Regions from separate parts of the Homo sapiens genome. Here all the other regions are linked to region 4. The links are contacts of gene promoters, found by promoter capture Hi-C in blood cells and fetal thymus (Javierre and others, 2016). All regions are on one chromosome and are shown on one strand. The core of a region is centred on a gene start or on the middle of the fragment in contact, and the rest is flanking DNA. Distances in the headings are between cores, read along the strand shown.

What was found. Contacts are between HindIII fragments. The CHiCAGO score rates a contact against its expected background, and 5 or more counts as called.
Region 1: a fragment that was not itself captured here is called in contact with the fragment with the promoter of HIKESHI in region 4 in 1 of 17 cell types (non-activated CD4 T cells); the score reaches 6.0 in non-activated CD4 T cells.
Region 2: a fragment that was not itself captured here is called in contact with the fragment with the promoter of HIKESHI in region 4 in 1 of 17 cell types (non-activated CD4 T cells); the score reaches 8.1 in non-activated CD4 T cells.
Region 3: the fragment with the promoter of PRCP here is called in contact with the fragment with the promoter of HIKESHI in region 4 in 2 of 17 cell types (non-activated CD4 T cells and naive CD8 T cells); the score reaches 5.6 in non-activated CD4 T cells.

What each region holds. Positions count from the first base shown.
Region 1 is chr11:83,292,981-83,296,330 of GRCh38, reverse strand. All of the region lies in intron 1 of CCDC90B-AS1 (CCDC90B antisense RNA 1), which reads right to left. Among named protein-coding and RNA genes, the nearest start is that of CCDC90B, 8.3 kb to the right of the region's middle. The HindIII fragment of the contact is 3,605 bases long and covers 1-3,100 here.
Region 2 is chr11:83,276,474-83,279,936 of GRCh38, reverse strand. It overlaps CCDC90B (coiled-coil domain containing 90B), which reads left to right. Exons shown (of 9, transcript NM_021825.5): 3 at 1,108-1,211. Among named protein-coding and RNA genes, the nearest start is that of CCDC90B-AS1, 7.9 kb to the left of the region's middle. The HindIII fragment of the contact is 6,725 bases long and covers 1-3,463 here.
Region 3 is chr11:82,898,504-82,901,679 of GRCh38, reverse strand. PRCP (prolylcarboxypeptidase) reads left to right here and starts at 1,250. Exons shown (of 9, transcript NM_005040.4): 1 at 1,250-1,445. The coding sequence starts at 1,278. It overlaps LOC124902602, which reads left to right. Exons shown (of 2, transcript XM_047427953.1): 2 at 1-766. The coding sequence ends at 656. RefSeq lists silencers at 315-404, 455-504 and enhancers at 715-764, 1,045-1,144, 1,295-1,354, 1,475-1,524. The HindIII fragment of the contact is 4,585 bases long and covers 1-2,265 here.
Region 4 is chr11:86,300,459-86,303,709 of GRCh38, reverse strand. It overlaps HIKESHI (heat shock protein nuclear import factor hikeshi), which reads right to left and starts at 1,470. Exons shown (of 5, transcript NM_016401.4): 1 at 1,232-1,470. The coding sequence starts at 1,261. The HindIII fragment of the contact is 4,753 bases long and covers 709-3,251 here.

The DNA.
Region 1 (3,350 bases), core at 49-2,548, 3.0 Mb after region 4:
TAAAGTAAAAAGACCCCAAATGTCTATCAGCGAATGGATGGATAAACAAATCATGGTACTGATTGTGTGCAATAGAATACTGGCCATGAAAAGGAATGAAGTACTGATGCATGCTGCAACACAATGAACTTCCAAGATATTTTGCTAAATGAAAAAAGCCATATACAAAAGGTCACATGTATGATTCAATTTACGTGATACATCCAGAATAGATGAATCCATAGAGACAGAACACAGATCGGTGTTAGTCAGGGGCTGAGAGGAGTGGGGAAGGGGAAAAACCTGCTAAATAGGTCAGGAATTTTACTTTGGAGTGATGGAAATATTTTGGAACTAGATAGAGGTGGTAGTTGCACAACATTGTAAGTGTACTAAATGCTACTGAGTTGTTCACGTTTAAATGGTTAATTTTATGTGACGTGAATTTCTCAACAAATTTTTTTAAAGAAATGACCTAAATTACACAAAGAGCTAACAATAAAAGAAAGACCTTCTTGATGATAAGAGCTGAAAACAGGGTAAGGCTGGCAGGAGTAAAATCAATGAAGGGCCCCCAAATTCTCCCCACAGTAGTATAGATCAGTTCTTAAGAGATAGCTTTGTGGAGTCAAGGGCTCTTCCCCAGAGCCTAAGGTAGTAGCAGGAAAAGGCCTGAGGTAGGAGTCAGGAGCTGTGACTATGTCACTAAATAATCAGCGCCTCTCCCCTGAGCCTCAAGCTCCCTCAGTTGCAAACCCAGAAAACTACCTCCCGAGGCTGTTGTGAGGCTCAAAGCAAACAGTGAATATGAAGGTTTTCATTACCCATTATAAAAATGCAAAGTTTTCCATGTGCTTCAGGGTTGAAATTCCAGCTTGTTGTATGTCCCTGAACAAGCTACTTAACCCCTCTAAGTCTTGTTTTTGTCTCTACCTACCTTACATGATTGTTGGAGAATTAGAAATAATATACGCAAAGTGCCTGGTACCCACTAAACCCTCAGTAAGTTGAAGCTATTGTTAAATGGGTGGGAACAATTTCAGCAAGGAAGGGAAGGAATAAGAGAAAATGAGCAAAATGGGTGTTGGGATGAAGGTGGGAGTCAGTGGAAATGTCATGGCCAGTGCAGGATTATGGCAGCCTAAGGGGAATATATAATCTAGAAATGGCATATGTGCTGCCCCCTTTCTCTCCTGCATTCATATCAGATACTACCAATCAATCATGTATTCTTTACTGCTGCACCAAGATATGGCCTCACAACACTCATCACTTTGTTCTAAGCAGCCACGGTCAATTGAAGGGTATTGGCATGAAGATGAAACCCATTTGTCACTTCTGTACTAACAGTTTCTTGGAGGATGAGGGATGATGTGTCCCTAAGAGTACACATAATTTCACAATTTGTGCCATGTACCCAGTTAAAATAAATTGGTGGAAGGAACAGGGGTGACTTATCTATGCAGTGTGCAGCACAATCGATTATGAGTTCTACCACGTACTTGCTCTGTGACCTGGGACAAGTCACTTCAGCCTTCTGAACCTGTTTTCCCATCTATGAAACAGGAGCAATGGTACCCAGCTCACGGAGTTGCCAAAGAGCTCAAATGAGCTCATGTGTGTGAGATAAGAGATGAGGCAACACCTACATGTGAAGAATTTTTGAGGAAGAATGCCCCACCTTGTTGTTGGAGACAGGAAGGATACAGACCATGCTGAGAGTTTAGTGAGATTTTTCAGCTCTGCTATACCCCAGTGCGGAAAATGAATTCCAAAGTCAAGACCCCAAAATCCTATTTCCCTAGTCTTTCCCAGTGAGGTCCAAGGCAGCCAAGTCATACAATGAGGAGGACTTCTCCAATCAGGTACCTTGAGGCTGGAGCTGTAGGCTCTGCCAGGCCAGGGGTCTTCTCTGACCAGGAAAGGGGCAGATGTCTAGGGTTTTCCAGATCAGTACCTAGGACAGGGAATCTAGGTGAAATACACAGCCTTGACCGCTGAAGGACTCAGCAAAGGGCAGGCAAACACCCTTTTGGTTTTTTTCCTTTTCTTTTCATTTTTTCGTTTTCGTTTTTGAGACAGGGTCTCTGTTGCCCAGGCTGGAGTGCAGTGGTGCAATCAGGGCTCACTGTAGCCTTGACCTCCTGGGCTCAAGAGATCTTCCCACCTCAGCCCCCTGTGTAACTGGGACTACAGGCATGTGTCCCATTGCCCGGCTAATTTTTTTTAATTTTTATAGAGACAGGAGCTCGCTATGTTGCCCAGGCTGGTCTCAAATTCCTGGGCTCCACTGATCCTCTCACCTTGGCCTCCCAAACTGCTGAGATGACAGGGTGAACCACCATGCCTGGCCACCTTTCTTTTCAAAGCTACTCCCTAGCCTAATGCCCTTCAGTGATTCCTCTTACTCATGGATAAAGTAAAAAAGACCTTGAAGGCCAGCCTCACCTTTTCCAACCTCACCTTCTGAATTTCCCTACCCTTAACCCATTGCTCCAGCCATTCTCTCCATTCCCAAATGAACCAGGCTCTCTCACACACACTTCCCGGCTTTTGCAAGTGCTGTTGCCTTTTCCACACAACGTACTCCACACCACCATTCACCAAATCCATTTAACCAAACTGTCTTTCACACATCCTTTCAAACTAATGCCTTCCGACGGATCCCTGCTTAGGGTAATATAAGCCTCTCTTATGCATTCCCTTGGCAGCCTATACTACCCTTCATCATAATATTTATTACAATAGACTGTTGACAATCTGAGAGCAGGACTGTGTTTTATGTTTATATCTTCATGGCTTAGCACAGTGCCTGGCACCATAAATAGTGTTCAATAGTCATTCAAAGAAAAAATGAGTAATCGATGAGAGACACCAGGTTATGATGTAACATTGCAAAGTATATAATGTTTTGACAGCTCTTTCTTCTTCTTTTCTACCATTCTTTTAATCATTCTTTTCTTTGATTTATTTTAATGGGCAAACTCGGAATCGGGTGTCATTGCCAGCCTCCCTGTATAATTAGGAAAAAAAAAATTTCCCCAGATTTTCAGGGAATACGGGCTGATAGTCACTTTCCAGCCATGCAAAATGTGAAATTAACATAAAGCTACACAAAGCTTTTGTGACAATGGGCCCTCTGACTCAGCTTCAGAGATGAGAGCAAAGAAGCAAAGAATTGTCCTTGGTTCTTTTCACATCCTCCCCCTAGTGGCAAGAGCTCCAAGTAAGCTAAGGAAGAAAATGAAACCCATTTGGTCCAGAGCTCTCTCTTTCTCAATGCCTCATTCACAGGCTTTAAAACACATCGAGATTCCTTCACATCACCTATTCCAAGAGAAAATGACTGACACATGTGAGTGGTCCAGGCT
Region 2 (3,463 bases), core at 29-2,528, 3.0 Mb after region 4:
AAGCATATGAAATAATATGTGCAGAATTATTCCAATTAAGTGAAAAAAAACTAGAGTTTCTAGGTTAAACTAAAGTCCGTGTGGAAGTACAAATGTTTGAGATTAAAAAATAAAAAAAAAGCACAAAAAATTACCTGATATCAAAACAGTAATTTAAATTATGTGATATTAAAGGAATAGACTAATAGAACAAAATGGTATTAAGAGACACAGACATGAATTTAATATGTGATGAAGGCATTACAAATTAGGGAAAGGAAGGACTATTTAATAAATGAGACATAATAAGTGACTAGCCACTGGGAAAAAATATATTAGATCCCCTTATTGAAAACTAAATTTCAGATAGATGAAAAGCTAAATGTAAAAGAAGAACAAGCAGTTTTACAGAAAAAGGTGGGCAAATGCTATAAACAAGCAGAACACAGAAAAATAAATATAAATAACAAAAAGTATATGTAATGCTTAACCTCTCTACAAACCAAGGAAATGCAAATTTAAGTAACATTAAAATAACAATGCAATACAATTTTTTATGCCAATTACACACTCAAAAAAAAAGTCATATCCAGTGTTAATGTAGATGTGGGGAGATACAGAATGAGAATTAAAATTTTAGAGTTTGTTTTTTTGTTTGTTTTTTTTTTGTTTTTTTTGAGACAGAGTCTCGCTCTGTTGCCCAGGCTGGAGTAAAGTGGCGCGATCTCGGCTTACTGCAAGCTCTGCCTCCCAGGTTCACACCATTCTCCTGCCTCAGCCTCCCGAGTAGCTGGGACTACGGGCGCCCGCCACCACGCCTGGCTATTTTTGTATATTTAGTACAGATGGGGTTTCACCGTGTTAGCCAGCATGGTCTCAATCTCCTGACCTTGTGATCTGCCCACCTCGGCCTCCCAAAGTGCTGGGATTACAGGCGTGAGCCACCATGCCCGGCCTAAAGTTGTAGAGTTCTTTTAGAGAGTAATTTAGTATTATCTGTCAATTTTTTAATTGTAACCATTATTTAAAAGAGTATAACAATTTAAATGTTGAGGAGTTACTCTTGCTGTCTATTTTGATAAGGATATACACTTTAAAAAAAATAAAATACCTATTTGCTGCCTACAGGATTTGACAAAACACAAGCAGAAACAATTGTATCAGCGTTAACTGCTTTATCAAATGTCAGCCTGGATACTATCTATAAAGAGATGGTCACTCAAGCTCAACAGGTAATACACTGATTACTATCACTTCTGATACTTTCATTAGACAATCATTTCATAACTATGTCTCTGTCTACCTACTGACCTTCCAAACATGCTTATATCTTCCTTGTTCTCTCTAAAGGGACCACAAAAAAAAACATTGAATAAAGTCAGTATTTAGAGAGACTGAATAGTTAGAATAGTTGTAATAATATTGTGGTAACAGAGAATGGTATTTTGCCAAATCTTTGATGGGATGAGATCATTATATTGTGTTATTCATGAGTGGTGGTAGATTGTTTGTGAAACAACTTTTTCCCTCTAGAAAGCTCACCACAGAAGAGCTAATCTTTCTATATATTCAGTATATTTTATTGCTGCTATACATACACATTGGTTAATTTTCACAGACATAGCTGGAAAGGACTTAGTTGGCTGGGAGGGACTTTATAAATTCCCTGGCTAAGACGCCTTAATTTAACTGAATATAAAAATCCTTAAAGTCAAACATAAGAATTTAACATGTAAGTGGCACAATGCTATGTACTTTTCGTATATTATTTAATCTCTAATAACCTTGAAAAGTAAGCAGAATTCTATTTGGCCACTGAAGACAGGCTCAGAGAAATTGAGTAGTTTGCAAGAGTTTTCACTGTGGTGGTATGGACAAAAAGCAATAATTTTATATAAAGGACTGAATAAACTAAATGAACTTAACTGGAATAATAATTCATTTCTGTCAGTCATGAAATAATGTATTATGTTTAGGAATCTGTTTTCTTCCTATGGTTATATTTTTTTCATTTTAATTTTTCAAATTTAGGCTTCCTTCCTCAGATAAGTATTTTACAGCACAGAGAAAAATCAGGATTTCTTATATAAAATTAGAATATTTTGCATAAAATTTCATTAAAGGGTCATGGTAGATCAAAAGATCTTACAGATTTCTACTATGGCCAGGTGCCGTGGGTCACACCTGTAATCCCATTACTTTGGGAGGCTGAGGTACACAGATCACTTGAGGTCAGGAGTTCAAGACTAGCCTGGCCAATAAGGTGAAACACTGTCTCTACTTGAAAAAACAAAAAAAAAAACAAAAATTAGCCGGGCATGGTGGTGGGCACCTGTAATCCCAGCTCCTCGGGAGGCTGAGGCAGGAGAATCGCTTGAACTGGGGAGGTGGAGGTTGCAATGAGCCAACATTGCACCACTGCGCTCCAGCCTGGGTGACAGAGACTCCATCTCAAAAAAAGAAAAAAACAAAAATTAAAACTGTAATCTCCAATTATAGTAGACAAATGTCCAATTAATTAGACATTTAAAATTGAAACATTCAATCCCTACATTTAACTTACCTTTAAGTTTGTACATGCATTTTTAGGATCATAACAGACTACTAAATCCACTAAAGAAAAAGCCAAACATCTAATTAGTTACTCCTAAGCTCCGAGCTGTCCTGAAAGAGCTATATGGAGCTACTGATACTTTTAATAAAGTAATTTTGTCTTAAATTTTTAAGTTTACCTATAATATAGGGAGTGAAATAAAGCTGTGATTTGAGGAATATTTGTGCTGCCAGGACCATTTAATCCTATATACAAGAGGTAGGATTGAGTATAGAAATATCACTATTAAACTTTTGGCTTTTTTATTACTGCTGTCTGAAGTTAAATAATCCTGTTCTGTTCTTGAACCTAATTCAATTGCTGACCCCACCTCTAGTATAGAATAAGGCACAGAGATGTCATGAAGGGTGAAGCTAAGGCTCAGGGTCATAGGCCATTAAGCTGCATACTTGATCACTTCAGAAAGGGCCATATGAAAACAAGTCAGCTAGCAGGATGAGGGGGAAAAAATAAAATAATAAAGTCTTATTCTGAAAATTTGATTATATTGTGATTTTGATTAAAATCTGAATATTCTCTGATGGCTCCATAGTAGTTTAAAAAAATCACACTTTTAATAGATTTAGCTACTTAACAATGGATTATGTGTACATTTAAAGTTGTTACAGATGGACACCTGTGCAGTTTTGTAGGCTTTTTGAGTCTGTATTTAAAGGAAGAATGAGGTAAAAAGAGGCTCTTAAGAGCCACATTAAGGCTGGTGTGGTGGCTCACGCCTGTAATCCCAGCACTTCAGGAGGCTGAGGTGAGCAGATCACTTGAGGTCAGAAGTTCGAGACCAGCCTGGCCAACGTGGCAAAACCCTGTCTCTACTAAAAATACAAAAAAATTAGCCAGGCATGATGGTGGGTGCATGTGGTCCCAGCTACT
Region 3 (3,176 bases), core at 1-2,500, 3.4 Mb after region 4:
CCAATCAGAAGAAGGCGCCGCAGAGGGTGGAGCTTAGCGAGGAAATCCTACAAGCATCTGGAAACGACCATTTTCGTCAAACTGCGGGTAGAGTCTTTCTCCCCGACAGGTGGATCAGTAGTACAGTCCGTAAAATTGGTTTTGGAGCTTCGCTGAGCCTCCTGGGCGTAGGGTTCCCGGGAAAGTGTGGAGTGAGCCGCAGCGCCCTGGGGTCTGGCGGGGTGACTGAAAGAGGGAATGGAAGCTGGATGAAGAGGGTTGAGGGAGCTTTGGAAGCCAGACCCGGCGCTGTCCTAGGGGCTAGCACTACCCACGGGCGGAGGGAGGAAGGGGGCGGTGGCAGGAGGCAGGAGGGGGGTGGAGCGCGGAGTGGGTTTTCGGGTGCCGGAGAAGAAAGGGGGCGTTATTTGAAAGAAGGGACCGGGACCTGGCGGGATTTAGGGGCGATGTGGACCCGGGGCGACCTGTGTAATGGATGGGTTGTGCGAGCAACACAGTTTTGGGGTGACCCAAGAACGGAGTATCATAGGGAGTGGTTAGGCTCCAGATGGAGGTGGGTGCAAGGAGCACAGTCTTTGGACCTGGACCCAGCGGTCTGCGACGACGTGCTCCGCTCACTGCTGAGTGATCTAGTGCAAGTTCCCGCACCTCTCTGAGCCTCAGTTTCCACATCTGTAGATGGGAATAACAATCATATACGACGCACAAGATTGCTGTGACGATTTAGTTAGAGGAGATGATGCGTGTGCCTCCCTGCCTCGTGATACACTGGCCTGTAGTGAACCTTCAATAAATTGTCATGGTAGCTGTTATTGCCGTTACGTAGGATTTGCGGAAGGCAGGAGGTGTCGCAATGGAATTGCGGTGGCCAGGGCAGGGTTTGGTGGTGATGATAATGGTAGGGATATTGGGTGACCTGAAGGACAGGTGGGCTTCGGGGGCGCTATAGATAAAGCATGGGCTACAGCGATGAGTTAGGAAGAGGCCCTAGCATGATAAGGGCAGACTTGGGGTGTGACCGCAATGAAGGTGAGTGCTAAGGAGCAGATGGCACGAGAGGAAAGTGGAGTGGAGGCGGTGTCCTCGGGGATGGGGGCGGAGTGGCTGTGGTGACCTGGCTTGGGCGGCGTCTCTGAGGAGCTGGCTGGCTTTGGGTTTCCCCTGGGAGGAGCTGTTTTGCGGCGGGCGGAGCTGCAGGCTGGGCAGGGCTTAGCCTGTGCGCTTCTGCTGGCCTCCTTTTCGCCCTCCCACCCGCACTGCAGTCTCCAGCCTGAGCCATGGGCCGCCGAGCCCTCCTGCTCCTGCTTCTGTCTTTTCTGGCGCCCTGGGCCACCATAGCCCTCCGGCCGGCCTTAAGGGCCCTCGGCAGCCTACACTTGCCAACCAACCCCACATCCCTCCCGGCTGTAGCCAAGAACTATTCGGTTCTCTACTTCCAACAGAAGGTAAGGGGGAGCGGGGGCTTCGCCGTCCCAGGCCCAACCGCCGGGAACCCTGACCCTCAGAGCCCGGGCAACGGAGCCTACCTCGAAATTCACACCCCTTGATGCCTAGGATCTGTTCGGTTTTTGGCTAACATCTTCCAGAAGGTGGTCCCAAATCCCAGTTCTGTTTAAATTTTCTCCTCCCATTACCAATAATTTGGTAGTAGTTTTGGCTGCATACTCTTGATTCAGGCTTTTCTGTAATTGGACACGACAGTCACTTCAACTCCCTCTGCTCCCAGAGGGTGCCCCAATCCGAACTCCCTTGACCTTCCCTCAAATTCAAATTATTAAATGCCAGCTCTGGTACCTAGTCTGCGGTGATAGTCATCCTTTGCCCCAAGGCAGCCCTAAATACAAATTTTAATATCTTTACCTATTAGAAAATATTGGATAGTTATCCATCCTAAAAGCCAGCCTCTCAGAAGGGGTCAGCTCAGAGCTGATTTTGTAGCCCTATTATTAAGAATTGTTGACAGTCCCTATTCCCCATAAGACTGAATGTATGTAGCCTATGCTTGTAAAAGGAGTTGTAGGAGTTTGTGGTGGGGGTGGGGATTAGCCTTTCTATGGTCTGTAACGTGAAATTAGAGGTTTTTGGGCTTGATGCCTTTGTGCTTGGCTGCAGCATGAGGCATTCCCCCACAGGTCTTGATGGAAAAGTACATCCTCTGTGAAATGACAAGTAATCCTTACAGTTCAGCATTTCTGAAAGCCTGTGTAAAAATAGGAAAAGATTTGGAAAAGGTTGGGATTAGAAAGAGTGCAAGGGTCTGAAGCTTGGCTTTAGGAGTCAGATAGAACCGGATTCCACCCTGCTAGCTCTGTGACCTTGGGCAGGTTACAGTACTTCTGTGAGCCTAGTTCCTTGATCTCTTGGGGTTTGTGGTGATGGTTGAATGAGAGCAGATAACGTACTCTTAGCAGAGTATCTGGCTTCAAGTAGGCACTCATATAATATGTGGTTATAGACCTATGTGAAATTTTGTTGTTGTTAATTGTGCAGAGACAAGGCTCACTATGTTGCCCAGGCTAGTCTTGAACTTGTGGGCTCAATAATCCTTCTGCATCAGCCTCCCAAAGTGTTGGGATTACAGGTGTGAGCCACTGAGCCCAGCCCTTATGTGAATTTGGAATGGGAATTTGTGGTAGAGGGATGTCATAGACTTCCAGAATAACTTAGAAATAATTTAAAAATTTTTTTATTTTTAAAAATAGAGATGGGATTTTGTCATCTTGCCTAGGCTGGTCTTGAACTCCTGGGCTCAAGCGATGCCCCTGTCTTGGCCTCCCAAAGGGCTGGGATTGCAGGCGTGTGCCACTGTGTCCCCAGCCAAGAAACAATTTTTAACCCAGACATTTGAGTTCAAGTTTATGAGGAAGAGAAAACATTTTAATTTTAGCAGGGGTACTAGGAAATAATCTTTTTTCTCAGGCAACTCCCTTAAATTAATTCTCTAGGGCATAATTCCCTCATTTGTAAATTAGGAGGGTTGGGACAAGGACCAATGTGTTTTACACTTTACTGAGGAAAATTAAGGGCTCTTTGGGGAGCTGTTTCAGAGGGAAAGTGGATGAAGGCTGAAGTGGAGGCCAAATTAGGTGCTCTAGTACCCTCTCTTGGATCTCTTTCAGCTTTTACCTGTTTTATATGCTGGGATTTTATATACAACTATTTGCAGAACTCAACTG
Region 4 (3,251 bases), core at 221-2,720:
TGATGTGTCCTAATACTCCATAATTAAAGGACCAAGTATCCCCAATATATAGAGGCAGGTATTACCATAACTAAATTTCCTTCCAAATTAGTTGACAACGTGAGAGATACATGGATTCCAAATAGGCTTTTTATTCTTTAAGAAACACAATTTTAATGTCATTCATTAATAACACTCACTCGTCTGAGTCACACAATCATTCCAGGTTTGTCCTTTTTCCCTATTAAGAGCAGGGCAAAATTATCTCACCAGGATTATGAATTACCACCATCACCACAGGGGTCTCCCAGTCATTCAAGAGACAAACTTTATGAGGCTAGTCATCTCCAACTTATCTTTCTGGCTTCTTAGAACTGTATATGTACAGAATACAATACATTATCAAAACTTGATGGGAAAAAAAGACAATTCAGCAAAGGGACTGCAACATTTTAAAAAGCCAGGAGAAAAAAGAAGGAAAAATACTTCTAGGGGAAAGGAATCAGGCCTGAAAATTGATGTCTGTGTGGTTTCTAAGGAAACAAACAAGATTCACCTTCCAGATTATTCCTAAAGAATTCCAGGTGCTGTTCTCATTTACTCTAACAATTTGGCAAGGTAAGTTATCTATTTTGACCCATAAGGAAACACACTACTCGCATCCTTCTCTGGTTATCTCAGATACGGCTCACACGTTAAGTTTCAGCCAACTTCCAATTAAATTAAGCTTATTTTTACTCGGGTTCTTCCAAAGGGACCCAAAAGATATACATTCCCTGAGCACCTTAATCTTTGAAAAACAGTTTGCTATAGACCAAATTCAATCCCAAATTCACCTCTACCTCAAGTTAATAAAGAAGGTATTTATACTGGCGATTGAACTTAGTTCTGTAACTGCAAAATGTCAAAGATAAAGACCATCTCACGAGTTATGAGGATTAAGTTCAAAGTGCCAAATAAGCGCCACACATAAGGCTGAGTGACCAAAGGCGTGCATTGCACTTAGCCCAGTACTTGGTACAAAATGCACACTTAATAAATGCCAACTTATACTGTGACTACTATTCGAAAGAATCTGAATAGAGCTGGGCAAAGGAGAGCACCCAGCTTCCCACGCTCCATCCTCACATACCCACCCAAAATATAATAAGTGGGCTTCCCCGCATCCCTAGCGCCTGCGCACCCTCCCTGCCGTAGGGCTTCGCCCTCGGTATCCTGACCCCTTCCTGATATCACCCGGTCCCATCCTCACCAGCCTCCCCGCCACCAAGCAGCCAAACATGGCGACGGCAGCTCCGTTCAGCCGGCAGTGACCTGAAGCCGGCGACTAGGAGTCCTGGGGCTACTGCCCTAGTCGAGACTAAGAACCTTCCAGAATTTGCGGGAGGGTGTCTGCCCCTCCACTACATAGTGACTGGGCCAGCGGCAAGAATGCCTCTGCCCCCGCGAACTCTGACCTTCTCTTCCTAAGCAGCCCACTGCTCAGGCAACAAGTACTTCCGGGGCTTACACCCGGTTTTCCCCACTAAGGAAGAAAGGCGGGCCAGCGCCAGTACAAGACTACAAGTCCCAGAACAAGTCCCAGAGGGCACCGCGCCAGTTTCCGGGAAGGTAAGCCTGGAGGCTTTGCACACTGGGATCGGTAGTCCGGGTGTTTTATAGCCACAAAATCTGTGGATCCTTCATTTCCATGTACAATCCTGGGAAGAGATGCTTCTAACGTTTCTGTGACATCTGAGAGATTAACGGTGCACTTTTACAATAATCACGTCACTAGATCTTTACAAAAACCCTATGAGGTAAGTATTATAATCCAAATTTTATAGGAGTGATCAGCCTCAAATCTTTACACAGCAGTAAATGTTGGAGGCTGAATTCAAGTCCTAATCCAAATCCGGGTTTCTTTCTGCTACACAGTGTCTCAGAAGTATTAATCTTTAACCAATTGTTTTGTACTTGTCTACAATTTATAGTAGTTCTTTCCAGCTTCACTTAGTTCTCCCATTCATTTGCTGTACAATTGTGGACGAGTTGTAGATGTCTTTGTGCTTCAGTGCCCCTCCTTTGCAAAAGACAAATAATGAGCCTATTGCCTAGGGTTGCTGTGAGGATTAAATGAGCTAATATGTATAAAACACTTAAAACAGTGCTTGGCTGTGCTTAATTAGTGGGAGTTTTATTGTAAAAATGTCTATTTTTTTTCTATGTGGATCTGCAGAAAAGTTTCATAGGAAATACAAAACAATAGCCAAAAAAAAAAAAAAAAATACTGGCATTAAGTACCGATTGCCACCAATACTTATTCTCCCTTTCACAGCTCCAATTCCTTTTCTTCTTGAATAGGATAGTAAAGGGTCTCTGTCCAATTTGAAATATCTGAGCTTGGCCACCAGCCGTAAAGCAGGTCTGTCTTCCCAGTTCTCAGTTTATATATGGGGGATCAGTGTTTGGAACAGTCCTCTGGCCTCCACTGTGGATCCCTAAACTGATCACCTATCTTATCACCGATACTCCTTTGAGATAGCTGTGCCAAAGGTGAAGAGGTAGGAAAGGATCTACCAATGTTTCCAACTTACTATCTAAAAAGTCCTAGAACCTTCAGAATAAAAAGGCCATTCATATGAAGACCACTTCATAAATTAAGGCACCCACACTACCTGGGTTCAGAGCCCATCTCTGCCATTTATTAGTTACATAATCTCAGGCAAGTTAACCTAACACTCCCATACCTCCTTTTCCCCATCTTTAAAATGAAGTAATAGTAGTATCTACCTCATAAAGTTGTTTTGAGGGTTCTTACACGTAAAGTACTCAATAGTGGCCAGAATGTAGCTTACTCAATAAATGTTAATATTTAGCATTATTGCCTTTCCTAACTAATTTTCCATGTCTTCTTCATACCCACCTTGTGCACTAGCCATACTTTTGAATTCTCTGAGCAACTCCTACTTTTAAATTTGTATGTGCTTATGCAACTTGTTTTATCTCCCTGTAATATTCACTTGGTTATTTCTTACACATCCTCTCACTTTTCTTCACTAACCTTTCTATGACCCACCTGATAGTCATTTCTTCTCCTACCCAGCAATCTTATATTTAGTGGATTGAGAACTAGCTAGCTTAGAATTTTTTTTATAAATTACAGATGATGTTTATTAATTGTCTCAATCTCTGTTATGTGAGATATGAGCTTTTTCTCCATTTTGCTGGTCAACTGTCTTAGTTATAGATTGTACAAAGAGTTAGAGGCAGTGAGTACAGTATCATATCTC